Linked DNA regions of Homo sapiens: all the other regions are linked to region 2. The links are contacts of gene promoters, found by promoter capture Hi-C in human tissues and cell types (Jung and others, 2019). All regions are on one chromosome and are shown on one strand. The core of a region is centred on a gene start or on the middle of the fragment in contact, and the rest is flanking DNA. Distances in the headings are between cores, read along the strand shown.

Region 1 (3,598 bases), core at 863-3,362, 210 kb after region 2:
CTCTCAAACCCCAGCACCTACAAAACAACAACTCCTTTCCTTCCTAGGCATGGTTAGCGTGGTCGGAATTCTTACACAAGAGCCAGGACCACACCCTGTAGCCTTTCTGTCCAAACAACTTGACCTTACTGTTTTAACCTAGCCCTCATGTCTGCGTGCAGCGGCTGCTGCTGCTTTAATACTTTTAGAGGCCCTCAAAATCACAAACTTTATCAGTCCTCCAGGCCCAAGTTGACTCTTTAGCTGCAGTTGTCCTCCAAAACCACCGAGGCCTTGACTGACTTACTGCTGAAAAAGGAGGACTCTGCATATTCTTAAATGAGGAGTGTTGTTTTTACCTAAATCAATCTGGCCTGGTGTATGACAACATAAAAAAACTCAAGGATAGAGCCCAAAAACTTGCCAACCAAGAAAGTAATTACGCTGAACCCCCTTGGGCACTCTCTAATTGGATGTCCTGGGCCCTCCCAATTCTTAGTCCTTTAATACCCATTTTTCTCCTCCTTTTCTTCAGACCTTCTATCTTCCGTTTAGCTTCTCAGTTCATTGAAAACCGTATCCAGGCCATCACCAATCATTCTATACGACAAATGTTTCTTCTAACATCCCCACAATATCACCCCTTACCACAAGACCTCCCTTCAGCTTAATCTCTCCCACTCTAGGTTCCCACGCCGCCCCTAATCCCGCTCGAAGCAGCCCTGAGAAACATCGCCCGTTCTCTCTCCATACCACCCCCCAAAAATTTTCGCCGCTGCAACACTTCAACACTATTTTGTTTTATTTGTCTTATTAATATAAGAAGGCAGGAATGTCAGGCCTCTGAGCCCAGGCCAGGTCATCGCATCCCCTGTGACTTGCACGTATACATCCAGATGGCCTGAAGTAACTGCAGATCCACAAAAGAAGTAAAAACAGCCTTAACTGGTGATATTCCACCATTGTGATTTGTTCCTGCCCCACCCTAACTGATCAATGTACTTTGTAGTCTCCCCCACCCTTAAGAAGGTTCTTTGTAATTCTCCCCACTCTTGAGAATGTACTTTGTGAGATCCACCCCTGCCCACCAGAGAACAACCCCCTTTGACTGTAATTTTCCATTACCTTCCCAAATCCTATAAAACGGCCCCACCCCTATCTCCCTTCGCTGACTCTCTTTTCGGACTCAGCCGGCCTGCACCCAGGTGAAATAAACAGCCATGCTGCTCACACAAAGCCTGTTTGGTGGTCTCTTCACATGGACACGCATGAAACCTACTGTGTACTTTGCTTTCTTTGCTCTTGGTGATTCCCCAAAAAACTTATCTCAACATATAAGGATTTTTCTTTTCTTTTTTTTTTTTTGTTTGAGACGGAGTCTCGCTCTGTCGCCCAGGCTGGAGTACAGCGGCGCGATCTCGGCTCACTGCAAGCTCCGCCTCCCGGGTTCACGCCATTCTCCTGCCTCAGCCTCCGGAGTAGCTGGGACTACAGGCGCCCGCTGCCACGCCCGGCTAATTTTTTTGTATTTTTAGTAGAGATGGGTTTCACCGTGTTAGCCATAATGGTCTCAATCTCCTGACCTCATGATCCGCCTGCCTTGGCCTCCCAAAGTGCTGGGATTACAGGCGTGAGCCACCGCGCCCGGCTGTTTTTTTTTTTTTTTACTTGCCTTTTTCCAAATGAGAAAACCAAGGCTCAGAGAGGTCAGTGGTGCAATCTCGGCTCACAGCAACTTCCGCCTCCCGGGTTCAAGGGATTCTAGTGCCTCAGCCTCCCAAGTACCTGGGATCACAGGCATCCGCCATCACACCCAGCTAATTTTTGTATTTTTAGTAGAGACAGGGTTTCGCCATGTTGTCCAGGCTGGTCTCGAGCTCATGACCTCAGGTGATCCGCCCACCTTGGCATCCCAAACTGCTGGGGTAGGATTTTCTTTTTTACTTCCCTTTTTCCAAATGAGAAAACCAAGGCTCAGAGAGGAAGAGCGTGTTGCCCCAAGTGGCCCAGCAGAGCCACAGCCTTGCCCCCAGCAGCTCTGGCTCTAATGCATTCCAGACTCCTCCCATCAGCCAACTGCCTCCCATCCTCTAATAAACTTCTGAGAAGCGCTGGGCAGATGCAGTGGCGCCCACGCTCTTTATCTGCCCAGATCAGGCCGGCTCAGCAGAGCAGTCGATAATTAATTCTGAATTCTCCCCATTTATCACGGCGGCAGGAGCCAGAGTGCCTGGAATCCCAATCCCAAACCTCCGTGCCCCTTGGTCACCTGGACCAAGGCCCAGTGGTGGCAGGAACTATGGTGGAGAGGGGGCCTCATTGAGCCTGGGAAGGGAGCAAAGGTGTTCCTGGCTCCCCACCGCTCCCTGGCGCTGGGTTATTAAACGCTGTGTACTGCAGCAGTGACCAAACCAGACCTCTTCCCCGTCTTCATGGTGCCCACAGGCTAGTGGGGAAAACATACATTGAATGAATAATAATATAAATAATTAATGCTACAAAGGAAAAGAACAAGATGTTGTGAGAATACAAAACAACAGGAACATAACTTGTTTTGGGGGCCTCCCCAAGGAAGTGACATTGAACCTGCAAATCACAGGGTGAAAGGTGAAAGGTTGGGAGAGGGTATTTCATATACAGAAATAGCCCATGCAGGCTGGGTGCGGTGGCTCACAGCACTTTGGGAGGCCAAGGCGGGCGGATCACCTGAGGTCAGGAGTTGAAGACCAGCCTGGCCAACATGGTGAAACCCCGTCTCTACTAAAAATACAAAAATTAGCAGGGCATGGCGATGTGTGCCTGTAGTCCCAGCTACTCAGGAGGCTGAGACAGGATTCTCACCTCCTGGTTCGCTTGAACCCAGGAGGTGGAGGTTGCAGTGAGCTAAGATAGCGCCATTGCACTCCAGCCTGGGCAACAGAGCTAGACTCTGTCTCAAAAAAAGAAAAAAAAGAAAGAAAAGAAAAGAAATAGCCTGTGAAAAAAACCTTGTGGCTGGAGCCCAGCAAGGGGTTTAGTAGGTCTGAAGCTTAAAGCACAAGTGTGAGGTCAGTGCCAAGTCAGGGGACCTCAGGGCCAGGCCTGGAGCCCTCATAGTGAGGCCAGCAGCCTTCAGTGGATAGCCAGGGGCCACCAAGGAAAGAGATGGATAAGTTTCCGTGATGCTCCAAGGGGTGGTAGTGAGGCTGCTTCTGCCCCAGGTGCATCACCCTGCAAGGTCAGTGGTCGGCTCTGTGTTGTTTTTTTTTTTTTTTTTTGGTTTGTTTGTTTTTGAGACGGAGTCTCGCTCTGTTGCCAGGCTGGAGTGCGGTGGCGTGATCTTGGCTCACTGCAACCTCCGCCTCTCGGGTTCAAGCAATTCTGCCTCAGCCTCCCAAGTAGCTAGGACTACAGGCGCCTGCCACCACGCCTGGCTAATTTTTATATTTTTAGTAGAGACAGGGTTTAACCATGTCGGCCAGAATAGTCTCGATCTCTTGACTTCGTGATCTGCCCGCCTCAGCCTCCCAAAGTGCTGGGATTACAGGAGTGAGCCACTGCGCCTGGCCGGGTTTTTTTTTCTTTCTTATGACTGTTTTCCTTTTTGAGGGTTCTTTCAAATCCATTTGGGCACGGGGGT
Region 2 (3,700 bases), core at 241-2,740:
AGAGGAAGGGGCGTTCTTGGAAGCTGCATATTTAGGGAGACGAGAAGACGATTTGAGACTGGGGAAAGAGGGTCAACCGAAGAAGGAGGTCCCAGATTTGGGGCGGGGGGTGTGGCTGAAAAAAAGATTCCCAGTTTGTGGGAAAGGTTCCCTGATTTGAGGATTCTGGAGAGAAAGCGGCCGAAGGGGAGTTCCCCAATTTGGGAAGGGGGGGAATTGGTGGGAAATGTCCAGGATTTGTAGGGGGAGGTCCGAAGGGGAGGATCTTAATTTTAGGAGAGATTCCCATAAAGAGAGGTGAACTTGGCCGCAACCTGGCCGAACCCTCGCACCCACGGCGCGGGCACTCTAACCTGGGGGGCTCCCCTCAGGGCACGCCCCGCGCCCCCTTTAACCCAGTGCCGACGGCCCCGCCCCCGGTATGACGTCACCTCCCCTCCCCCCGCAGCCCCCGGGGGCTCCCGGGGCGTGCGGAACCCGCGGGGCTGGCGGTTCCAGGGGCGGCTTCCCCACTCTCGGGATCCCCACGGGGCCCCCAGCGCGGAGGGGAGACTGGGGTGCTGGGCGTGCGCGTCTGCCTGCCAGAGCCCCTGGGGCTGGGGGCTGAGGCTCGCCCCTGGGTGGGGAGGCTGGAAGGGGGCGCCGAGGCCGCAGAAGGGTGGGGCAATGCCCGAGTGCCGGAGGGGCGACCTCCCATAAGGCAACGACAGGGCCCGGAGTGTTCCAGGGGAGACGGCGTAGACTAGGGGGTCTCCAGGGGAGGGAGACCCGGAGAGGGAAGGCGGCGGGCGCAGCAGCCCTGGAGCCACCCCGCCTGGAGCCACCCGTCCCGGCTCCTCTCCGCTCCGGGGCGCCCGCATGCCCCCCATCCCCCGGCACAGCGCCCCCTGCCTCCAGGACCCGCCCGGGGACCCGGGCCGGGCGCCGCCGGGGCCGGCACCGGCTCCGCACACACGCGCGCCCCCCTCCGCGCCTCTGCCCCGCCCGCAGCCCGGGGTGGTGCAGCCGGCGGCGCTGGGCAGCTTCCAATGCCGCGCTCTGGGCGCTTCCAGCCCAGCCCCCTCCCACGCCGCGGACGAAGCCCCCCCAGCACCCCCTGCCGAGCGCCCCCAGCGCGGCCCCGGCCCTGTCCCTCGGGGCATTGTCCGGGCGCAGCTACCGGGGCGCAGCGGCTGGGCGTGCAACTGGCTGCAGCCGAGCATCCTCCGAGCACAATGGCCGTGCAGGCTTCCCCGGCACAAAGCCGGCGCGCTGCCCACTCGGCTGCCTCCGAGACCCCCCTTGGAGCGCCTGCATTTTTTTTTCCTCTAATCCATGATTTTATTTTTTTTTTTGGCTTTACCTGGAGGCTGGCTGGGCTGGGCTCCCCCGGCTCTGCCCCGCTTCACATCGTGGCTGTTGCATGGGATCCGAGCGGAGCCCGAGCGCCAGCGGCTCGCGGCGTGCGCGCGCCGGCCGGGCTGCCGGGCGGGCGGCGCGAGGACACTCACTGCGGCTCGCGCTCCCCTAGCTCCCGCTCGCGCGCCCCCCCAGCCGGTGACGTCATCCCTTCCGCCAGCGCCGCCGCCGCCGCCGCCGGGTCGGGGGCAGGGCCGGCCCGTGCGCGTCACTGCGCAGCCGCGCGGCCGCCACGCCCCCCGGCCAATGGGACGGCGCAGCGCGGTCACGTGGCTCCGGGGTGTTTAAAGGGCCGCGGGAGCACGTGGGGCGCGGGGCTTCGCGGGACACGTGGGCGGCTGGGGTGGTGGTGGTGGTGGCGGCTGCGGCGGCGGCGGGAAGGGCCCCTGGGGCTACTGTCCGTGCGGGAGCCCCAGCGTCCTGGGTGCAAAGGGCATGGCACTTTCTGTGCGCTGCCCTAAACTGTGCCACGGCTCCCCAGTACCCTTGGAATAAAATCCCGCCTCCTCTCTGCAGCTCGCCGTTTCACATTAGCGCCCACTACCCTGTCCCCTCCCCCCCACCATGTCAATGATCCAGAAAAACCAGCTGCTCCTTCTTTGCTTTTTCAGAGATGGGGTCTGCCACCTGGGCCTCAGTACAGTGGTATGATCATAGCTCACTGCAGCTTCAAACTCCTGGGCTCAGGTGATCCTCCCGCCTCAGCCTCCTGAGTAGTTGGGCTCGGGTGATCCTCCCGCCTCAGCCAGCTTCTTACAGTTCCTCTAACTTGAGCATCCAAGAACTTCCCCTTCTCATCTTTCCAATTTCTGCTCAAATAAGCAGCGCCTGGGAGAAGCCCTCCCTGACAACAGCTACCAGCCACGCCCCACTCCACTCTATCCCATTATCCCGGTTTGTTGTTGTTGTTGTTGTTTGTTTGGTTTTGAGTCGGAGTCTCACTCTGTCGCCCAGGCTGGAATGCAGTGGCGTGATCGCGGCTCACTGTAACCTCCGCCTCCTGGATTCAAGCTATTCTCCTGTCTCAGCCTCCGGAGTAGCTGGAATTACAGGCGTGCTGTCACCACGCCTGGCTAATTTTTGTATTTTTGTTAGAGACAGTGTTTCACCATGTTGGCCAGGCTGGTCTTGAACTCCTGACCTCAGTGATCCGTCCACCTCGGCCTCCCAAAGTGCTGGGATTACAGGCGTGAGCCACCGCGCCTGGTCCCATTATCCCGTTTTTATTCTAGTTACACTACAGTGTGGCTCCAGAGATCCCTATTGTAGGTTGAACACATGAATGAATGGATGATGGAGCACTTCTTATAGAGTAAGCACTTTACACAGGTCTCACCTAATTACCATCCCCTGCTTCCCTGGAGTCAGGACGAGCCACAGTTGGAACCCAGCTAAAACACTGATTTGCTGTGTGAGGCCCGGAGCCTCACTTTCCCCATCTGTAGAATGGATTTGCCTCTGGATCTCAGCTCTCATCTGTAAAATGGGGCAAGGTAGCCCCTGCTCCTAAGGAGGGTGTGATGATGAATTGCTATAATGTGGCAGCCTGGCTGCCATTGGTGCCTGAAGATGGAATAATAAGAGAAAAGAGGCCGGGCCCGGTGACTCATGCCTGTAATCCCAGCACTTTGGGAAGCCAAGGTGGGCAGATCACTTGTCAGGAGTTCGAGACCAGGCTGGCCGACATGGCGAAACCCCATCTCTACTAAAAATACAAAAATTAGCCGAGCGTGGTGGCAGGTGCCTGTAGTCTCAGCTAGTTGGGAGGCTGAGGCAGGAGAAACTCTTGAACCCGGGAGGCGGAGGTTGCAGTGAACCAATATCACACCACTGCACACTCTAGCCTGGGCGACAGAGTGAGACTCTCAAAAATAAGGAAAAAAAACAGAGCGGAAGTAAATAAAAGGGGGATATTGACAAAGGTAAGGGGGTTGGAGGGCTCACAGCCACCAAGCAAGATTGCACATCAGTCCTTGTGTTTTGATCATGTCGAAAGCATTTATTTCCTCAAGGCACATATTTGGAGAAGGCCTGGTGCCCAACAGAGGAACTCAACTTTAGAATTGGTTTTTTTTTTCCTCCAAAATTGTTGATTCATTCATTCCAGGCCACAGATGCAGATAAACAAAAAGCATTAACCCGGGGAACAAAACGATAAGGCGGAAGTCATAAACAGGAGAAAAGAGAGGAGATAATGAATAATTTAACAAGGAACCTAATTTAAGCTTGGAGTTTCCCAGCGGCCAGTGCAGCAGCCACGTTTGCAGAGCCTACTTTGTTTTTCTTCCTGGTGGGGTGACCC
Region 3 (3,764 bases), core at 741-3,240, 240 kb after region 2:
GCGCTTGACTTTCCCAGGAATTGACTCCAGTTTCCCAGGGAGCTGCACTGGGCTATGTCTGGGTTTGGTGATGTTGTGTGGCGTCCGTAGGTGTCCTCATATAAATTGGTGGCTGGCCAGGGGGACTAGAGATGTCTAACTTGCTTGACTGGTAAGCACATCAGGTGCTTCCCAAAGTGGATTCTGTTGTACACCAGGGTGACGGACAAGGATGCCCACGTCCTAATCCCTGGGACCTATGAACACATTGGTCTCCAAGACAAAGGGACCTTGCAGATGTGATTAAGGTGAAGGAATTCGTGGCTGGGTGTGGTGGCTCATGCCTGTCATCCCAGCACTTTGGGAAGCCAAGGCAGGAGAATCACCCGAGGCCACGAGTTTGAGACCAGCTTGGCCAACATGGGGAAACCCCATCTCTACTAAAAATACAAAAACTAGCCAGGCATGGTGGCAGGTACCTGTAATCCCAGCTACTTGGGAGGCTGAAGCAGGAGAATCGCTTGAACCCGGGAAGCGGAGGTTGCAGTGAGCCAAGATTGTGCCACTGCACTCCAGCCTGGGCAACACGGCACGGCTTCATCTCAAAAAACAAAGAGAAAAGCTCTCCTAGTCCACCCAGCTGACCAAAGAAATGGCTGAAGGGCTGAGGTCTGAACCCACCCAGCAGTGAGAGCAGAATCCGAACCCTGATTTGTCACCATCGTATGACCAGGTAGGAACAGCCTCACCTCTCCCGTGGGTCACTGGGACTCAAGGAAGCCCTGCCCCTCAATCCGGCAAACCTGTTAAAAGGCACGGCATCCCCGTTAAACGTCGACTTTATGGTTGTTGGGTTTTTTTGGAATCAAAAGGCCCTGTTCTAACTTTGCCTTTGAAATTATGTGACTAGGAGTCATGCATGCAATTTGAGACTGGCAATCATCGTGGAGGCTTGGGAGTTCCTTGGGAATAAGAAAATCTAACCTAGGAGCTGTTTTGAAATGTAATGAAATCTTTATGAATACAAAATTTAGCAATTGGTGAAGTTGACACATTTTGTAGCTGTGGAGACATTTCGTAAGGTCTTAATTCTACTTTTTCTTTCTTTTTTTTTTTTTTTTGAGATGGAGTTTCGCTCTTTCACCCGGGACTAGAGTGAAGTGGCGCGATCTCGGCTCACTGCAACCTCCGCCCCCCAGGGTTCAAGAAGTCTCCTGCCTCAGCCTCTCGAGTAGCTGGGATTACAGGCACCCACCACCATGCCTGGCTAATATTTGTATTTTTAGTAGAAATGGGGGTTTCCCCATGTTGGCCAGGCTGGTCTCGAACTCCTGACCACAGGTGACCTACCCGCCTCAGCCTCCAGAAGTGCTGGGATTCGAGGCATGAGCCACCGCGCCAGGCCATAAGGTCTTAATTCTGATTCTGCTGTTTTCTTTCTGTATGGCTGGAGCTGGTCATTTCCTCACCGGGACCCCCTCCAGACCTCTGGCATTGCATTTCGCCAGGGCCCCTGTGAAACATGAGCACCCGAGGCTCTATTCCTGTAGGGCTCCCCAGGGCCTGCCAACATGTATTAAGCATTTACTGTATGCCAAGCTTTTTATGTGGATTAACTAATCTTTGTAAAGATCCCATATGGCAACTACAATGATTACTCCCTCCTTCCAGTTAAAGCAGCTAAAGCAGACAGTAATGACCTGCCCGTGGGCAGGCAGGTAGTGAGAAGGCTGGGTGCCAGGCAGTTGGCTCCTAAACTTGCTCTCAAGAAGCTCCCTGTTTCTGCCCCAGTGGCTCTCATTCCCGTGATGCCCCCACAGCTCCCCCTCCCCTTTAAAAATGTCTTTAAAACGATGGGAAATGATACATAACAAAATTCACCACCAAATGGTATACCAAGGCCAGGCATGGTGGCTCATGCCTGTAGACCTAGCAACTTGGGAGGCCAAGGTGGGAGGATGGCTTGAGCTCTGGAGTTCGAGGCTGCAGTGAGCTATGATCGCGCCACTGCATTCCAGCCTGGGAGACACAGCGAGACCCTGTCTCGTAAAAAAGGGGAATTGGAATCTTCATATAGTGCTAGTAGGAATGTATAATGGTACCACCACTGTGGAAAAGTCTGGCTATACTTCCAGAAATAAAACACAGGGAGTTACAAAGTCAGCATAGGACCCAGCAATCCCAGTCCCAGGTATATACACAGGAGAATGGAAAACAGGTGTTCAAACACATACATATCCATAAATGCTCACGGCAGCGTGATTCACACACAACTGCCCAAAGGGGGGAACCACCCACACGTCCATCAGCATCTCCTTTTCATAACACGTATTTTGTTCCACCCACCTTTTCTCTCTTGAAATAAAAGTTGAGTTAATATAACGTACCTATGCTCAATTATTAAAGAAACAGGCCAGGCGCGGTGGCTCACGCCTGTAATCCCAGCACTTTGGGAGGCCGAGGTGGGCGGATCACTTGAGGTCAGGAGTTCGAGACCAGCCTGGCCAACATGGTGGAACCCCGTCTCTACTAAAAATACAAAAATTAGCTGGGCGTGGTGGCAGGCACCTGTAATCCCAGCTACTTGGGAGGCTGAGGCAGGAGAATCGTTTGAACCTGGGAAGCGGAGGCTGCAGTGAGCCCAGATCCTCGCCACTGCACTCCAGCAGTGACAGAGTGAGACTGTCTCCAAAAAAAAAAAAAAAAAAAAAGGAGGGGGGGGGGAACCAGGACACAAACACGCTTGCAGGAAGAAGGCCACATGATGAGGATGGAGGCCGAGACTGGGCAATGTTTTTACAAACCAAGGAATGCCCAGAGGTGCTCGGCAGCTGTCAGAAGCCAGGAGGCTCAGGACGGAGCCTGGGAAGGACACAGCCCTGCCCACACCCAGATCTCAGACTCCTGGCCTCAAGAACTGAGAGCCAATGAGCTTCCTTAGGCAGTCTATGGTGCTTTGTGACAGCCGTCCTGGTAACTCGAGTGCTTTGTTTCTGCGTGGAACAGAGCTGGTTCCAGGCCCGGCTCGTTGGAAAGGGCAGGGCTCTTCTGCCCCCATAGGATGTCCAGTGGGACTGGTTCCCTTTCCAGCTCCCATAGAGCAGCCTGGCAGTGGTTGAGCCCCTGCTTCATAGTTCAGGAGGCCACACCCACCTCCAGGAAGGGGTGCTCCGTGACATCTGAGACACCGAGGTCTGAAAACAGGGCCTGCTCCCAATCCCAGGCTGCCTCCTCAACGCAGGCTAAGCCTGCCTTTTATTGCCCAACAGGGAAGCTCTCAACCCCAATTTCTAGACTCTGGCTCGTCGGGGAGACAGGCAAGCCGCGAAGACCCCATGTGCAACACAGAGGCGGCGTGGCGCCCAGTCCACCTGCCACTGGAAAATGACTCCAGAAGCCGCCACCGTGGGGGAGGCTCCGGAATGCGTTCACGGCAGCTCAGGCCCAGACAGGACGCCGAGGGCCAGGGCCAACCTGCCTTTCATGCTCTGGTGTCTGTGGCAAGCTGGGCTGGATTTTAACATGGCTTTTTAAAAACTTAACTTCCCAGCGGGGGCGGGGGGAACTCCAGCAGAACCGGCAGTTGGAGGAGGGGCCTGCGGGTGGCTGTCCTAGATACGGAGGGGAGGAAAAGAGGTCCCCAGCAGGTGGCCCTGCCAGTTAACTCTCACCACACCACACCGGGCTGGGCTGCCCCTCCCGCCGAGAGGGCACTAGGCCAACCCCATGCACCATCCTCTGCCCCAAGATGCCTGCAGCCCCTACCCCTGGCCAGCACCAGCTCC

Evidence for each region. Contacts are between HindIII fragments. The study calls those that stand out against the background at their distance.
Region 1: a fragment that was not itself captured here is called in contact with the fragment with the promoter of PTPRS in region 2 in 1 of the 25 tissues and cell types used here (neural progenitor cells).
Region 3: a fragment that was not itself captured here is called in contact with the fragment with the promoter of PTPRS in region 2 in 2 of the 25 tissues and cell types used here (IMR-90 fibroblasts and neural progenitor cells).

What each region holds. Positions count from the first base shown.
Region 1 is chr19:5,551,960-5,555,557 of GRCh38, forward strand. No RefSeq gene overlaps it. Among named protein-coding and RNA genes, the nearest start is that of TINCR, 14 kb to the right of the region's middle. The HindIII fragment of the contact is 4,976 bases long and covers 1-3,598 here.
Region 2 is chr19:5,339,322-5,343,021 of GRCh38, forward strand. It overlaps PTPRS (protein tyrosine phosphatase receptor type S), which reads right to left and starts at 1,491. Exons shown (of 38, transcript NM_002850.4): 1 at 1,343-1,491. RefSeq lists a silencer at 1,419-1,698. The HindIII fragment of the contact is 6,208 bases long and covers 1-3,700 here.
Region 3 is chr19:5,582,487-5,586,250 of GRCh38, forward strand. No RefSeq gene overlaps it. Among named protein-coding and RNA genes, the nearest start is that of TINCR, 16 kb to the left of the region's middle. RefSeq lists enhancers at 3,353-3,412, 3,392-3,686, 3,432-3,726, 3,581-3,764. The HindIII fragment of the contact is 4,461 bases long and covers 1-3,764 here.